2 separate regions of the Homo sapiens genome follow, and region 1 is linked to region 2. Evidence: promoter capture Hi-C in human tissues and cell types (Jung and others, 2019). All regions are on one chromosome and are shown on one strand. The core of a region is centred on a gene start or on the middle of the fragment in contact, and the rest is flanking DNA. Distances in the headings are between cores, read along the strand shown. Region 1 overlaps NLK (nemo like kinase). Region 2 holds the start of WSB1 (WD repeat and SOCS box containing 1).

Region 1 (7,194 bases), core at 810-3,309, 770 kb after region 2:
CAGTGGGCACATTTCAGTCCTTACGATTTATGTTGCATGTACTAATAGTTTGTTCTTGTTCATTGTATTAATATATCACAACTTTAAAACCCTCTTCACCTGTTGATGGACATTTAGGTTGTTTGCAGTTTTTGGTTATTACAAATAAAATTGGAATGAATATTCATTTACAATATTTCTGTGGACATAGGCTTTCATTTCTCTTGGGTAAATACCTAGGAGTGGAATGACTGGTTCAAATTATATGTTCAAGCTTAAAAGAAACTACCAAACTGTTTTCCAAAGCAATCGCAATTTGCATTCCCACCAACAAGGTATAAAAGTTCCAGTTGCTTGTGAGCATTTGGTGATATCCAATTTTTTCTTCCTAATTTTAGCCATTTTAATAGGTATGTAATACTGTTTATAGTGGTTTTGCATTTCCCTAATAACTCAAGATGTTGAGCATCTTTTCAAGTGCTTATTAGCTGTCTCTGTATCCTTTTTTGTAAAGTATCTATTCAAGCCTTTGCCCATATTTTAATTGGGTGGCTTTCTTAATAGTAGGTTTTGAATGATCTTTACATATTCCGGATATAAATCCTCTTTCAGATACGTGATTTGCAAATATTTTCTCCCAGTCTGTAGTTCCTTTTTAAAAAAATTCTCCTGAGTGTCTTTTGCAATACAAACATTTTAATTTTGGTGAAGTCCAGTTGATCCACTTTTTCTTTTCAGATCATAACTTTTGGTGTTAAATCTAGAAACTCTTTGCCTGACCCAGGTCATGAAGAATTCTGCGTTTTCTTCTAAAAGTTGTATAGTTTAATGGTTTACACTGAAGTCTGTATTTCATGTTTGGGTTAGTTTTTGTACTAGATGTGAAGTTTAGGTAGACCTTTATTTTTATTTTTATGTTTTTTACAAAAAGAACATCTATTCATTTATTGAAGTTTTAACAATTTTTATGTACATGGACAATGCTTGCACACAAAGTCAGCATTCTAATGCACTTTCATGGAGTCAAATTTGCAAAACATGCATAAAACAAATTAGAACTCTCTAACAGTCTCTATGCAATTTATATCTCCAGTATTGGAAATGATGTGAAGATTAAATACATGGCACAGAGAATTGTTTAAAAAAAAAAAAAGGCTGACAATTAAAAGTAGTGGAAAAAAATTTTTAAAAGAAAAAACTAAAAAAATTCAATATATAAAAAAACTGGCATTAGGGATAGATTTGGGCAGTTAGCATGGAGATAGTTCATAAGATCTGGTCAAACATGATGCAACTATCCTGTGATGGTGACTTTTGGGATCTTAGATGTTAGAGATTGAGACTTTGGGGATTTTGCTCTTTTGGGATTTCAACACTGAGGATTATGGCGTTCAAAATTGTGTCTCGGTATTGTGATCCAAACTGTAGGTAGACCTTCTTAAAATATATATATATATATATATGGTCTGGGCATGGTGGCTCACACCTATAATCCCAGCACTTTGGGAGGCCATGGCAGGTGAATCACCTGAGGTCAAGAGTTTGAGACCAGCCTGGCCAACATGGTGAAACCCCACCTCTACTAAAAATACAAAAATTAGCAGGGCATGGTGGTGCACGCCTGTAATCCCAGCTACTCAGGAGGCTGAGGTAGGAGAATTGCTTGAAGCCGAGAGGTGGAGGTTGCAGTAAGCCGAGAGGGAGCCACCACACTCCAGCCTGGGCCACAGAGCGAGACTCCGTCTCAAAAAAAAAAAAAAAAAAATATGGATGTTCGATTGTTCCAATACCATTTGTTGAAAAGTTTGTCCTTTCTCCATTGATTTGCCTTTATACTTTTCTCATAAAATTAATTGGCCATAGTTGTGTGTCTCATTTCTTCTTTAACCTATAGATTGCTTAGAAGTGTGTTTTTAATTTTCTTTTTTTCTTTTTAGTCAAGTGCAGTAGTCAGAAGGGGGAAAGAGTAAAATAAGGAGTTGTATTTGGAACTGACTGAACAATCAAGGGAACTTAATATCTTCAGATGATCCTGTTTTTAATTTTCAAAAATGATATTTGTTTTTAGGTTACTATCTTGTGATATAATTTTGTTGTGATTAGAATATGTGGTTTGCGTGATTGATACCATTTTGGGGGGGAATTTGTTGAGATTTACCTTGTGGCCTTGTATGTGATCACTATTTATAAATATCCTTTTGTTTTTAAAACGTATATTTATTCTGCAGTTGATTAATGTTTTGTATATGTCCACTAAAGTTTGCTAATTGTATTTTAATTTTTAAAATTTTTTCTATTTTTTAGAGACAAGATCTCTTTCTGTTGCCCAAGCTAGAATGCAATGGCATGATCATAGCTCACTGTAACCTCAAACTTGTGAGTTCAAGTGATCCCCTGCTGCAGCCTTCAGAGTAGCTGGGACTATAGGCATGTGCCACCACACCAGGCTAATTTTTAAAATTTTTATAGAGATGGGATCTCACTATGTTGCCCAAGCTGGTCTTGAACTCCTGGGCTCAAGCGATCCTCACGCCTCAGCCTCCCAATGTGCTGGAATTACAGGTGTAAGCCACACACCTAGCCTTTTTTGATGTGTTTCTACTATAGTAAGTACCACCCAATCAAGATACAGAACATTTTATCACCCCAGAAAGTTCACTCAAGTAAATTCTACCATGCATCCCCCTCCCCCTGCCCTAGGCAGCCACTTTTTTGGTTTCTGTCATCTTTGATTAGTTTTGCTTGTTCTTAGATTTTATATAGATAGAATCTTACAATATGTATGTACTCTTATGTGCGAGGCTTCTTTCACTCTACATAATGTTTTTGCAATTCATCTATGTTGCTTGCACATATCAGTGTTTTTTTCTCTTTATTACTGAATCATATGTCAGTGTATGAATATAGCACAGTTTGTTTATCCATCCTTCTGTTCCTTCCAGTTTTAGACTATTCTTACATAAGTCTTTTTATGGATATAAGTTTTTATTTCTCTAAGGATAAATATCTAGGGATGGAATTGCTGGGTTGTAGAGTACATATATATTTAACTTTATTAAGATTGCCAAAGCAGTTTTCCAAAGTGGCTTTACCAGTTTGTACTACTACCAGCAAAGATGAGAGTTCTAACCCACTTGCAAATCCTTGCAAAATTTGATGGTCTTTGAATGTAGCCATTTTAGTGGGTGTGAAGTAGTATCTCATTTTAGTTTTAATTTGCATTACCATGATGGCTAATGATGTTTGCCACATTTTCATGTATTTATTGGCTGTTGGCATGTCTTTTTTTTTCCTGAAAATTCTGTTGAAGTTTTCCACCCATTTAAATGATTGGTTTGTCATTATTATTATTATACTGTAGGAGTCTTATTTCTTTTTCTGAATACCAGCCTTTTGACAGATCAATCTATTGTATTTTCTCCTACTCTGTAACTTACCTTTTCATTTTGTAAATGATGTCTTTTGATGAACAGAAAATTCTATTTTGAGAAGTTAAGTTTATCAACTTTTTCTTTTATTATTAGTACATTTTTTGGTTCAGTATAAGAAATCTTTGTCTAGCTGGGCATGGTGTTTCGTGCCTGTAATCCTAGCATTCTGGGAGGCCGAGGCAGGCAGATCACCTGAGGTCAGGAGTTCGAGATCAGCCTGGCCAACATGGTGAAACCCTGTCTCTACTAAAATTAGAAAAATTAGTGAGGCATAGTGGCCTATGCCTGTAATCCCAGCTACTCAGGAGGCTGAGGCATGAGAATCATTTGAATCCAGGAGGCGGAGGTTGCAGTGAGCCAAGATCGCACCACCGCGCTCCAGCCTGGGCAACAGAGCAAGACTGTGTCTCAAAAAAAAAGAAGAAATCTTTGTCTAGTGCCAAGGTCATGAAACTATTCTCTTTTATTTTTTCTGGAAGTTTTAAGGTTTTAATTTTTATGTTTAGGTAAGTTTTCCATCTGAAATTAATTTTTTTTTTTTTTTTTTTGAGACGGAATCTCGCCCTGTTGCCAGGCTGGAGTGCAGTGGTGCGATCTCGGCTCACTGCAGCCTCCACCTTCCAGGTTCAAGGATTCTCCTACCTCAGCCTCCTGAGGAGCTGGGACTACAGGCACACACCACCATGCCCAGCTAATTTTTATATTTTTAGTAGAGACGGGTTTCACCATGTTGGCCAGGATGGTCTTGATCTCTTGACCTTGTGATCCTCCCACCTCGGCCTCCCAAAGTGCTGGGATTACAGGCATGAGCCACCGTGCCCAGCCTGAAATTAATTTTTGTATATGGACTAAGATAAGGGTTTGAGGCATTTTTGTTGTTTTGTTTTTTAAAATACTAATTTTAAAGTAAAATATTAATTTTAAAGTAAAATACTAATTTTAAAGTAAAACACTATTCTAAAATACTAATTTTACCTATTCTCACAACATCCTTCTTTAAGAAGATTTTTTCACCCTTATTGAATAGCCTTGCTCCACTGTGGAAAATCAATTGACTATATAAATATAGTGAAATTCTAAGCTTTTCTGTTTCATTAGTCTTTTGGTCTAGTCTTATGTTAATGCCACACTGTCTTTATATACTGTAGCTTTAGAGCAGGATTTTTCCATCTCAGCACTATTGACATTTTGGGCCTGATAGTTCTTTGCTGTGGGAGGGTCTCCTATGTATTATAGGATGTTCAGCATCATCCCTTGCCTCCACCACTAAATGCTAGTAGCCACTCAGTAGGTGTGATAATCAAAAAATGTCTACAGACAGTACCAAATGTCCCCTAGGGAACAAAGTCACCCTCAGTTGAGAAACACTATTTTAAAGTAACTCTTGAAGTCAGATAGCGTAAGTCTTCCAACTTACTTGTTTTAATTCAAGATTATTTTGGCTACTCTAGAAGCTTTGTGTTTTCATATCATTACAGAATTAGCTTGTCAGTTTCTTTAAAAATCTGTTGGGATATTTATTGGAAGATGTCAACTCTGTAGATCAAATAGAAGAGAATTTTTAAGAAAGTTGAGTGTTCCATTCCATGAACATGGTATAGCTCTCCACTTTTTTTTTTTTTTTTTTAACAGCCTTTGTCAACCACTCTGATCTCCATTTATTATAGTCTTTAATTTCTCTTGGCAGTGTTTGGGAGCTTGCATTTTAGAGGCCTTGCACATGTTTAGTTTATCACTAAGTATTTAATATTTTTCGATGCCATTGGAAATGGTATTTTTATTTTCAGTTTCACTGTCCAATGTCATTGACTAGTTGTAGGCACTCCTGTCCTGCCTTCAACCTTACATTCACTTAAGGCACCATGTTACTTGAGGGCGATCCCTCTCAGCAATCCTGCTGTATCCTACGTGAAGGCTTCATCAGAAAGAATTGGCAGAACAGGTCTGGAGAGCCTCAGGTTTTAATTAATTAAGTCAAATATCTTCAGCCAATGAAAGGTTGCTAAAAGATTATTTTGGTTTCTCTTGCCCTGCTTTCAGCATGCAGTTTACTCTTCTTTCCACTGTGACCCAGGGATGAAAAGGGCTTGGAGTGTTTTCTCTCTTAGCAAGGGCTTCTCTTTCTCTGGAGTTTAGTTCATTTACGTTCTTTGAGTTCTCAGCTTTCTTGTATACAACCACCCAACTAACCAACCAACCACCCAACAAAAAGTATGATTTCATTGCTTATCTAACCTTTTCTCCTTGTTATGCAAAGTGTCATATTTCTGTGTTCTAACTGGAAGTGGTTAACCAGTTTTCTTTGTTCTGTGTTTTGGTAGATGTTTTAACTTCTTTTTTATTTTTTTATTTTCAGCATTTCTGTTCTTATATTTTATATGTCTCTGATATACAGCATACATTTAAATTCAGCTTTTTAATCTAGTCTGACAATCTTTTAAGGGAAACACTTAATTCATTTCCATCAATTGTGCTTACTGATCTTCTTTCTTCTTCTTTTTCTTTTTTTTTTTTTTTTGAGACAGGGTTTTGCTTGGTCACCCAGGCTGGAGTGCAGATGTGCGGTTACGGCTCACTGCAGCCTCCACCTGCTGTGCTCAAGCAATCCTCCAACTTCAGCCTCCCAAGGGGCTGGGACCACAGTCACATGCCACCACGCCCAACTAATTTTTAAAAACTTTTTGTAGAGACAGGGTCTCACTGTGTTGCCCAGGCTGGTCTCAGACTGCCGAGATGAGTGCGCTGATCTTTTTAAATTTGTCCCTACCACCTTATTTATATATTTCTTATGTTCTGCTTTTCATATTTTTCTCTTTATTTGCCTTCTTTTGAATTGCTTGAGATTTTCCACCCCTTATTTGTAAGTTTCATACCTTATTTTGTTCTTTCAGTTGCCCTTGAAATTTTAGTATGCATGTTTAAATTCCATGGGTAATAAATATTGTTTATTTTCGAATCTGCCTGGTCCGTTTTAATAGTCTCCTATTCTGTCATACTTGTTCCCCCTTTTATATTTTTTCAAATACATTAAAAATATTTTATGTTTGCATCTGATAATACTCTTATCTGCTGTCTTTGTTGGTCTAATACATTGGCTCTTACTTGTAGGTGCTTGTTTCTTTGGTGATTTTGTAAAATTGTGAGCCCATGACATTAGAACTTTATTTTTTGTGATTTTTTTGAAGCAGGGTATTAGATTTTTTTTTTTCCAGAGATGATGTGAGTATCTAGTAGTACCACCTACTTTTAAGTAAATTTTTGACTTGAGTTTTTCAGGCCACACCACTAGTTTGAATTTTAGTCACAAAGGGTGCAGACTTACTAAGAATTCACAGTGGAGACATATTTCTGTTTTACTCTTCTACCAAGAACCAAAGCCAATAAAGACCCTTATTCTCATTATCGCCCTCTGCAGAATGAGCTTTTACCTATTTCACTTACTAAGGATGCAGACTTTTGGGAGGCTTCTAGCATATTTGTAAAGGTATAGTTAATCCAGTCTCCTGGGAAGGGCCCCAGGTGGCCTCCTGTCATCTCAGCAAGTAGCCCATTAAAACCTAGGCTTTTGTCCACCGAGGATTGGCCAGTAACTCCAGGGAAAACTGTCTATAATGTTACTCACCTTTGTGAATGTATATTTCTTTCTTGTTTCTGCTCTCCAGGAATTTCTTTGCTTCCCTCTCAAGGTTAACCATGTATTTTATCCAGCATCTTTAGATGCTTTTCCATCTAATTTACTTTTATTCTATACTCATATCTTTAGGAATTACCTCTAGCTCTTTTT
Region 2 (6,781 bases), core at 644-3,143:
TGCAGTGGTGCAACCTCAGCTCACTGCAACCTCTGCCTCCCGGTTTCAAGCAATTCTCCTGCCTTAGCCTCCAGAGTAGCTGGGACTTCGCCACTACGCCTGGCTAATTTTTTGTATTTTTAGTAGAGATGGGGGTTTCACCATGTTGGCCAGGCTGGTCTCGAACTCCTGACACCCGCCTCAGCCTCCCAAAGCGCTGAGATTACAGGCGTGAGCCACCGCCCCCAGCCTAACAAAGTGATTTTTTTTTAAAGACGAGGGGCAGGCAGGGCGCAGTAGCTTAACGCCTCTAATCCTAGCACTTTGAGAGGCCGAGGTGGGCAGATCACAAGGTCAGGAGTTCAAGACCAGCCTGGCCAATATCGTGAAACCCCCTCCCTACTAAAAGGATGAAAAAAATTAGCTGGGCGTGGTGGCAGCCACCTGTAGTCCCAGCTACTCGGGAGGCTGAGGCAGGAGAATCGCCTGAACCCGGGAGGCAGAGGTTGCAGTGAGCCGAGTTGGCGCCACTGCACTCTGCTCTGGGAGACAGAGCAAGACTCCGTCTCAAAAAAAAAAATAAATAAATAACCAAAAAAAAAAAAAAGGAGGGGCGATGTTTTATTAAACATTTCGCTATTTGAAGAATTAATACACTCATGCAAAGAAAAGATGAAGTAAACATGCCCTACAGTGTTATCATTTGAGATCTCTTAAAAGCGGCTATGCAGCCGGGCGTGGTGGCTCACGTTGTAATCCCAGCACTTTGGGAGGCTGAGGCGGGCGGATCACTCGAGGCCAGGAGTTCGAGACTAGCCTGGCCAACAGGGTGAAACGCCCTCTGTACTAAAAATACAAAAATTACCCGGGCTTGGTGTCACATGCCTGTACAAATCCCAGCTACTGGGGAGGCTGAGGCAGGAGAATTGCCTGAACCCGGGAAACGGAGGTTGCAGTGAGCCAAGATCACGCCATTGCACCCCAGCCTGGGAGAAGCGAGACTCCGTCTCAAAAAAAAAAAAAAAAAAAAAAAAAAAAGCGGCTATGCAACACTCTACTCTGTCCCATGAATATCTGCCACATATTTGAATTCCCAGTCTTATACGCCCCAGGCCTTTGCAATGTTTAGGGTCCACACGAGAAGCCATTAAAATGCAAATACGTCATCTGTGACCGGGAACCAAGCTGGCATCTAGCAGATACTGACACATTTATCAGTCTGATGTGTGGACAACTAGGTGCCTCCCAGAGGCCTTCAGGTAAGGTGGAGGAAGGGCCAATTCTGAGCTGACACAGTGGGATCCATCTTGGCCAGGACAGTGGGATCCATCTTGGCCAGGACAAAGGCAGTCCAGAGAGGCCCCGCGGCGCGGTGCGGCGCGATCACGCCCGAGTCTCCTTCTCGTTCCCCTCGGCCCTTCCTAAAACCTGCTGGCTCAGGTCTGAACAATCGCAGCTGGACAGGTGGTGCACAACGATGTTAATTTTCATCCTGTCTTTTTCATCAGTGCATCCTTCAGTTCCCTATTACTTGTGGGCTGGGGAGTTGGCCAAATTGAGTGAAAACCTGAAATGTCTTTTTGTTCTTTTGGTTCAGCCAGTTTAAGTTCCATGCAATCTTTAAGCTAGGAGGCTAATAATAATACAATTCTCTGCTTGCCCTTTTCAAAGCCACTTCAGCTTATAAACTCCATATTAGACCATCCAGGCCCAGAAGACGCCACCGGCCTACAGGCAGAGTCAGCGGAACCAGCCTGGGCTGGATCTCCCCCTGCGAGGCCCCCAGGCAACGCCCGCGCCGGGCCGGGGAGATCACGTCCCGTGCGTCGGGAGGCGGGGGCCTCGGGCTGTGACGTCACGTGGCCGCGCCCCTGCCGCCCAGATATCTCCGGCGCCGCCCGCCATTTTGACTCCAGTGTCTCGTTTGCAGTCGGCGCTTTAGGGGAACTGTCTTCCTCCGCAGGCGCGAGGCTGGGTACAGGGTCTATTGTCTGTGGTTGACTCCGTACTTTGGTCTGAGGCCTTCGGGAGCTTTCCCGAGGCAGTTAGCAGAAGCCGCAGCGGCCGCCCCCGCCCGTCTCCTCTGTCCCTGGGCCCGGGAGGGACCAACTTGGCGTCACGCCCCTCAGCGGTCGCCACTCTCTTCTCTGTTGTTGGGTCCGCATCGTATTCCCGGAATCAGACGGTGCCCCATAGATGGCCAGCTTTCCCCCGAGGGTCAACGAGAAAGAGATCGGTGAGGATTGGGACCGTGGGTGGGCGCATGAGGGCCGAGGAGAGGCAGGGACTCCCCGGAGGAGGTTTGGGAGGAAGCGACTCCAAGTCTGAGGGAAGAGCTCCAGTGCGCCAGGGCCAGCCCACTAGCGAGGAGGAGGAAGCCGCCTCGGTGGGAGTTGGCTGAGGGGTAAACGGCACCGACGTGGATGCAGCACCTACTGTGCTCCCTCGCGGTTGCTGTGTGGCTGGGGCGGGCAAGGACCCCGGTTTCTTCGTCGGAGGTCCGCGCAGGGCTCTTGTCCTGGGAGTTCTTGGCTCAGGGCATGACTGTCGAGTGGACAGGGAAGGGCCACTCAGGGACTTTAGGTTTACAATGGGGAAAAGTAAACTTGTGGGTTGTAAGCGGTAATGAAAGGAGGGGGTCCTCGTGTGTACCAACCACTCTTAGATAGAAATGAGATGGAAGAGGTCCCAACAGCCTGGCAAAAGCAATACAGTATTTTTAAAATGGTGTGGCCTTAAGAAACGCAGCGGTTCGGGGGAGGAGACTTTTAGAATTATCTTTCAAACACTTAAGGGAGGAGCTGGGTGGTTGGGTGGAGTGACAGAAGGAAAGCTTTTGTGCGGAAGAGGAAACTCTGGAAAAGGCTTTTCTGGCTTAGTGTCTAGCCCTGGTCGGCTTAGTAAAGGGCAATTAGTGTTGAAGGTTGTGCGTCCACACCTACTTAGTGGCTCAGTGGAAAGCACGTCGCATTATTTAAATCCTCTTTTAAAGTAAAATAACTGGAACAACGTTTGACGGTGTTGGGGGGTGCTGTACATTGGCTGATAACACTTAGCAAACACTGATCTTACTGTGTGAAGTAATAATTAGCTGCGGCCGCTGAGCAGAGAGCATTTACATTTTCCTACTCTTGAAGTGAATGTGTGCCTTTACTAAGTACAAGGAGGAGTTATTTCTAGAGAAGGGAAGAGGCTGAAGTAGCCAAAACGCGCACTATTTTGTATGTGGGTGAATTTTTATATCTAGAAACAGCTGTTTTAGAATTCTGGACTTTTGTTGTCTTAGGGATGATTGATTAGGAAGGGACTTTAACCCTGGTTTTAATAACCATTTTTAAAGATACAAACACAGAAAAAAAAGGGAAAAAATTGTAGCAGAGTTCACACAGAAAAAAGAAAAAAAAAGATGCAAAGAACACAGAATTTGTGTCCAGTTATTATTTTAACTGTATTTTAAGACTAGAAAGTATGTCGCGAAGTGGGACAAAGAACTCAAAAGTTCTTATCAGTCCAGTGGGTTTTTCTTTTACTTTAGTACACCATAATGTTATAGACGAGTGATCTGCCTTTTTTTTAAATCTGTATTTTACTTCATCCTGATAAACCATTTTGAAAACTTTGCGGTCCTGTTTTCTCTCTCTCTTTTTTTTTTTTGAGATGGAGTTTTTGCTCTTGTTGCCCAGGCTGGAGTGCAATGGCACGATCTCGGCTCACTGCAACCTCCGGCTCCCGGTTTCAAGCGATTCTCCTCCCTCAGCCTCCTGAGTAGGTGGGATTACAGGCATGCACACGCCCGGCTAATTTTTGTGTTTTTAGTAGAGATGGGGTTTCTCCATGTTGGTCAGGCTGGTCTCGAACTCCCGACCTCAGGTGATCGCCCACCTCTGCCTCCCAAAGTGCTAGGATTACGGGCGTGAGCCACCCCGCCCAGATTTCCGGTTTTGTTTTCTAAGAGATGGATAGAGATGGATAGCATACCTACATAAAGTAGAACCATCCACTAAGTGTTCCCCCACTAGCCCCCTGATTTCTCTTTTCTTTTCTTTCTTTTTTTTTTTCATATTTAGGTCTCAGTGTTATTTCCTGGATACGTTATAAAAACTTACTAGCTAAGTGCCAGATATCTAGAAGAACTTTTGCTTTTTCTGAGCTTTTTTTAACCCCAGTTTTTTTCTTTGTTTCTTTTTTTGAATTATCATTTGGATACAAGGTTGAACATTTCTCTGCGTAGCTTTTTAAATCTATGAATAAGGATTTACTTTTTTTCTTTTCTTGGGTGTTAATTAAAAGCCAAGCCAAGTTTAGTTTCTCAAGGACATACGGAGAGTAGAGGCAAGATTTCCATGAATGATTAAATAATTCTGTGATACTACTGCCTTGAGCTACTGCCCTTTTTCACAAGGCACTGCCACAGATCATCCCTTTCTGGTTATGAAATTTTGGGGAGGAATGTAAAGAAGGAGCTAAATCTGGTTTGCTTGGTTCAGCAGTGACTCAGATGGTATGTTACTGTTTTACAGATATTAATAATGTAGTGTTGTATCTTACGGCTGATTTCCCATGGCAGCCTTTCCCTTAATAAGGTCATTAAATCATACATTTCTGTTGCTAACATTAAACAGTTACAGATAATGTAATAAAGGTTTAACTTAAAAATTTTTTTTCAAAGCACTTTATTACAAACTTTGTGCTAGGTTTATAAAATTGTACCAGTATTTAATCTGAGCACTTAAATCATTTTATTAAAGTGCCAAAGGCAATTTGATATACCTGTTATCCAGCAAAGAAACACAAGGCAATTATTAGTAAATTTTAACAGATTAATGCATTTATTTGGTAGGTTTTATAATGGCTCTATTTCTTGAGTTTGTATATATTTGAGAATTATGTTATAAATATGTTATTATTTCATTGTCTTTGCTATCTATTTGAACCAATTTTTTAGTAATTGTTACCGCTCTTTTACTTTTTTTTTTGTTCCTTTGAGACTGAGTCTCGCTCCGTCGTCCAGGCTGGAGTGCAGTAGCGCAGTCTCAGCTTACTGCAACCTCCACCTCTCGGGATCAAGCAGTTCTCCTGCCTCACCCTCCCGAGTAGCTGGGATTACAGGTTCGTGCCACCACACCTGGCTGATTTTTTGTATTTTTAGTACAGATGGGGGGTTTCACCATGTTAGCCAAGCTGGTCTGGAACTCCTGACCTCAGGTGATTCACCCTCCTCGGCCTCCCAAAGTGCTGGGATTACAGGCGTGAGCCACTGCCCCCGGCCTACTCTTTTTTTTTTTTTAGACAGAGTCTTGCTCTATCACCCAAGCTGGAGTGCGGTTGTGAAATCTTGGCTTTCTGCAACCTCTGCCTCCTGGGCTCAAGCAATTCTCCCACCTCAGCCTGGTACTACAGGTGCATGCCACCACACTCGCTAATTTTTTAAATTTTTTGTAGAGATGAGGTCCCCTATCTATCCCAGGCTGGTCTCAAACTCATGGGCTCAAGTGATCCATCCACCTTGGCCTACCAAAGTGTTGGGATTACCAGTGTGCCTGTCCTATTACCACTATACACAAGGAGTTCCATGATTGTGGTCAAGGTAGAAGAAAAATATAGAGTAACCTTAAAATACAGTCTAGGCTGGGCACGGTGGCTCATGCGTGTAATCCCAGCACTTTGGGAGGCCGAGGTGGGCAGATCACCTGAGGTCAGGAGTTCAAGACCAGCCTGGCCAACATGGTGAAACTCCGTCTCTGCTAAAATATACAAAAGTTAGCTGGGCGTGGTGGTGGGCATCATGATGGTGCATACCTGTAATCTAAGCTACTCGGGAGGCTGAGGCAGGGAGAATTGCTTGAACCCGGGAGGCAGAGGTTGTAGTGAGCGGAGATCATGCCACTGCACTCCAGCCTGGGCAACAGAGCAAGCCTCCGTCTCAGAAAAAAAAAAAAAAAAAAAAAAAGTCACGTATGAAAAATTTAAGTCTTGCTTATGCTTGCTAAGGGAGAGCTTAATTTTAGTCTCATTTACTAGATGTTCTTGAAATTGAATGCAAGGGCTGTTCCTCGTATACAAGTTACATAAATATTCTCCATAGAGACTTTTAAGTTGAATTTTAAAACTTGCTTCCCTTATTTGTGAACTTAGCATTTTTTTCCTCCTAAAAATGCTTGTAAAATGTTTTTAAAATGCTTTAAAAATGTTTTCAAAGATAGATGTGGTTAAACAGGAATCCAAGTTAAAAAAAAAGTGTGCCTGATGCAGTGGGTCATGCCTTAATCTCACCGCTTTGGGAAACCAAGGTGGGAGGATCGTTTGAGGCCAGGAGCTGGAGACCAGCCTGGGTAACATAGCAAGACCCTGTCTATAAAAAATTGTTTTTTTGCCGGGTGCGGTGGCTCACACCTCTAATCTGAGCACTTTGGGAGGCCGAGGCGGGCGGGTCACAAGGTCAGTAGTTCGAGACCAGCCTGGCCAACATGGTGAAACCCCGTCTCTACTAAAAATACAAAAAATAATAATAATAATTAGCCAGGCATGGTGGTGCACGCCTGTAATCCCAGCTACTCGGGAGGCTGAGGCAGGAGAATTGCTTGAACCCAGGAGGCGGAGGTTACAGTGAGCCAAGATCAAGCCACTGCACTCCAGCCTGGGCGACAGAGCAAGACTGTCTTAAAAGGAAAAAAAAAAGTTTGTTTTTTGTTTTTGTTTTTTTCAGTTAGCCAAGTGTGGGGGCATGTGCCCGTAGTCCCTGCTACAGCTACTCAGGAGGTTGAGGCAGGAGGATCATTTAAGCCTACGAGTTTGCCTCTGC

Evidence for each region. Contacts are between HindIII fragments. The study calls those that stand out against the background at their distance.
Region 1: a contact is called between a fragment that was not itself captured here and the fragment with the promoter of WSB1 in region 2, in 1 of the 25 tissues and cell types used here (hippocampus).

The regions. Positions count from the first base shown.
Region 1 is chr17:28,066,416-28,073,609 of GRCh38, forward strand. The region is part of intron 1 of NLK (nemo like kinase); the gene reads left to right. Among named protein-coding and RNA genes, the nearest start is that of NLK, 27 kb to the left of the region's middle. The HindIII fragment of the contact is 5,235 bases long and covers 1-4,677 here.
Region 2 is chr17:27,292,221-27,299,001 of GRCh38, forward strand. WSB1 (WD repeat and SOCS box containing 1) reads left to right here and starts at 1,894. Exons shown (of 9, transcript NM_015626.10): 1 at 1,894-2,215. The coding sequence starts at 2,176. It overlaps MIR4522 (microRNA 4522), which reads right to left and starts at 1,776; the gene lies at 1,690-1,776. RefSeq lists enhancers at 1,623-1,672, 2,043-2,102, 2,113-2,172 and a silencer at 1,713-1,922. The HindIII fragment of the contact is 10,527 bases long and covers 1-5,422 here.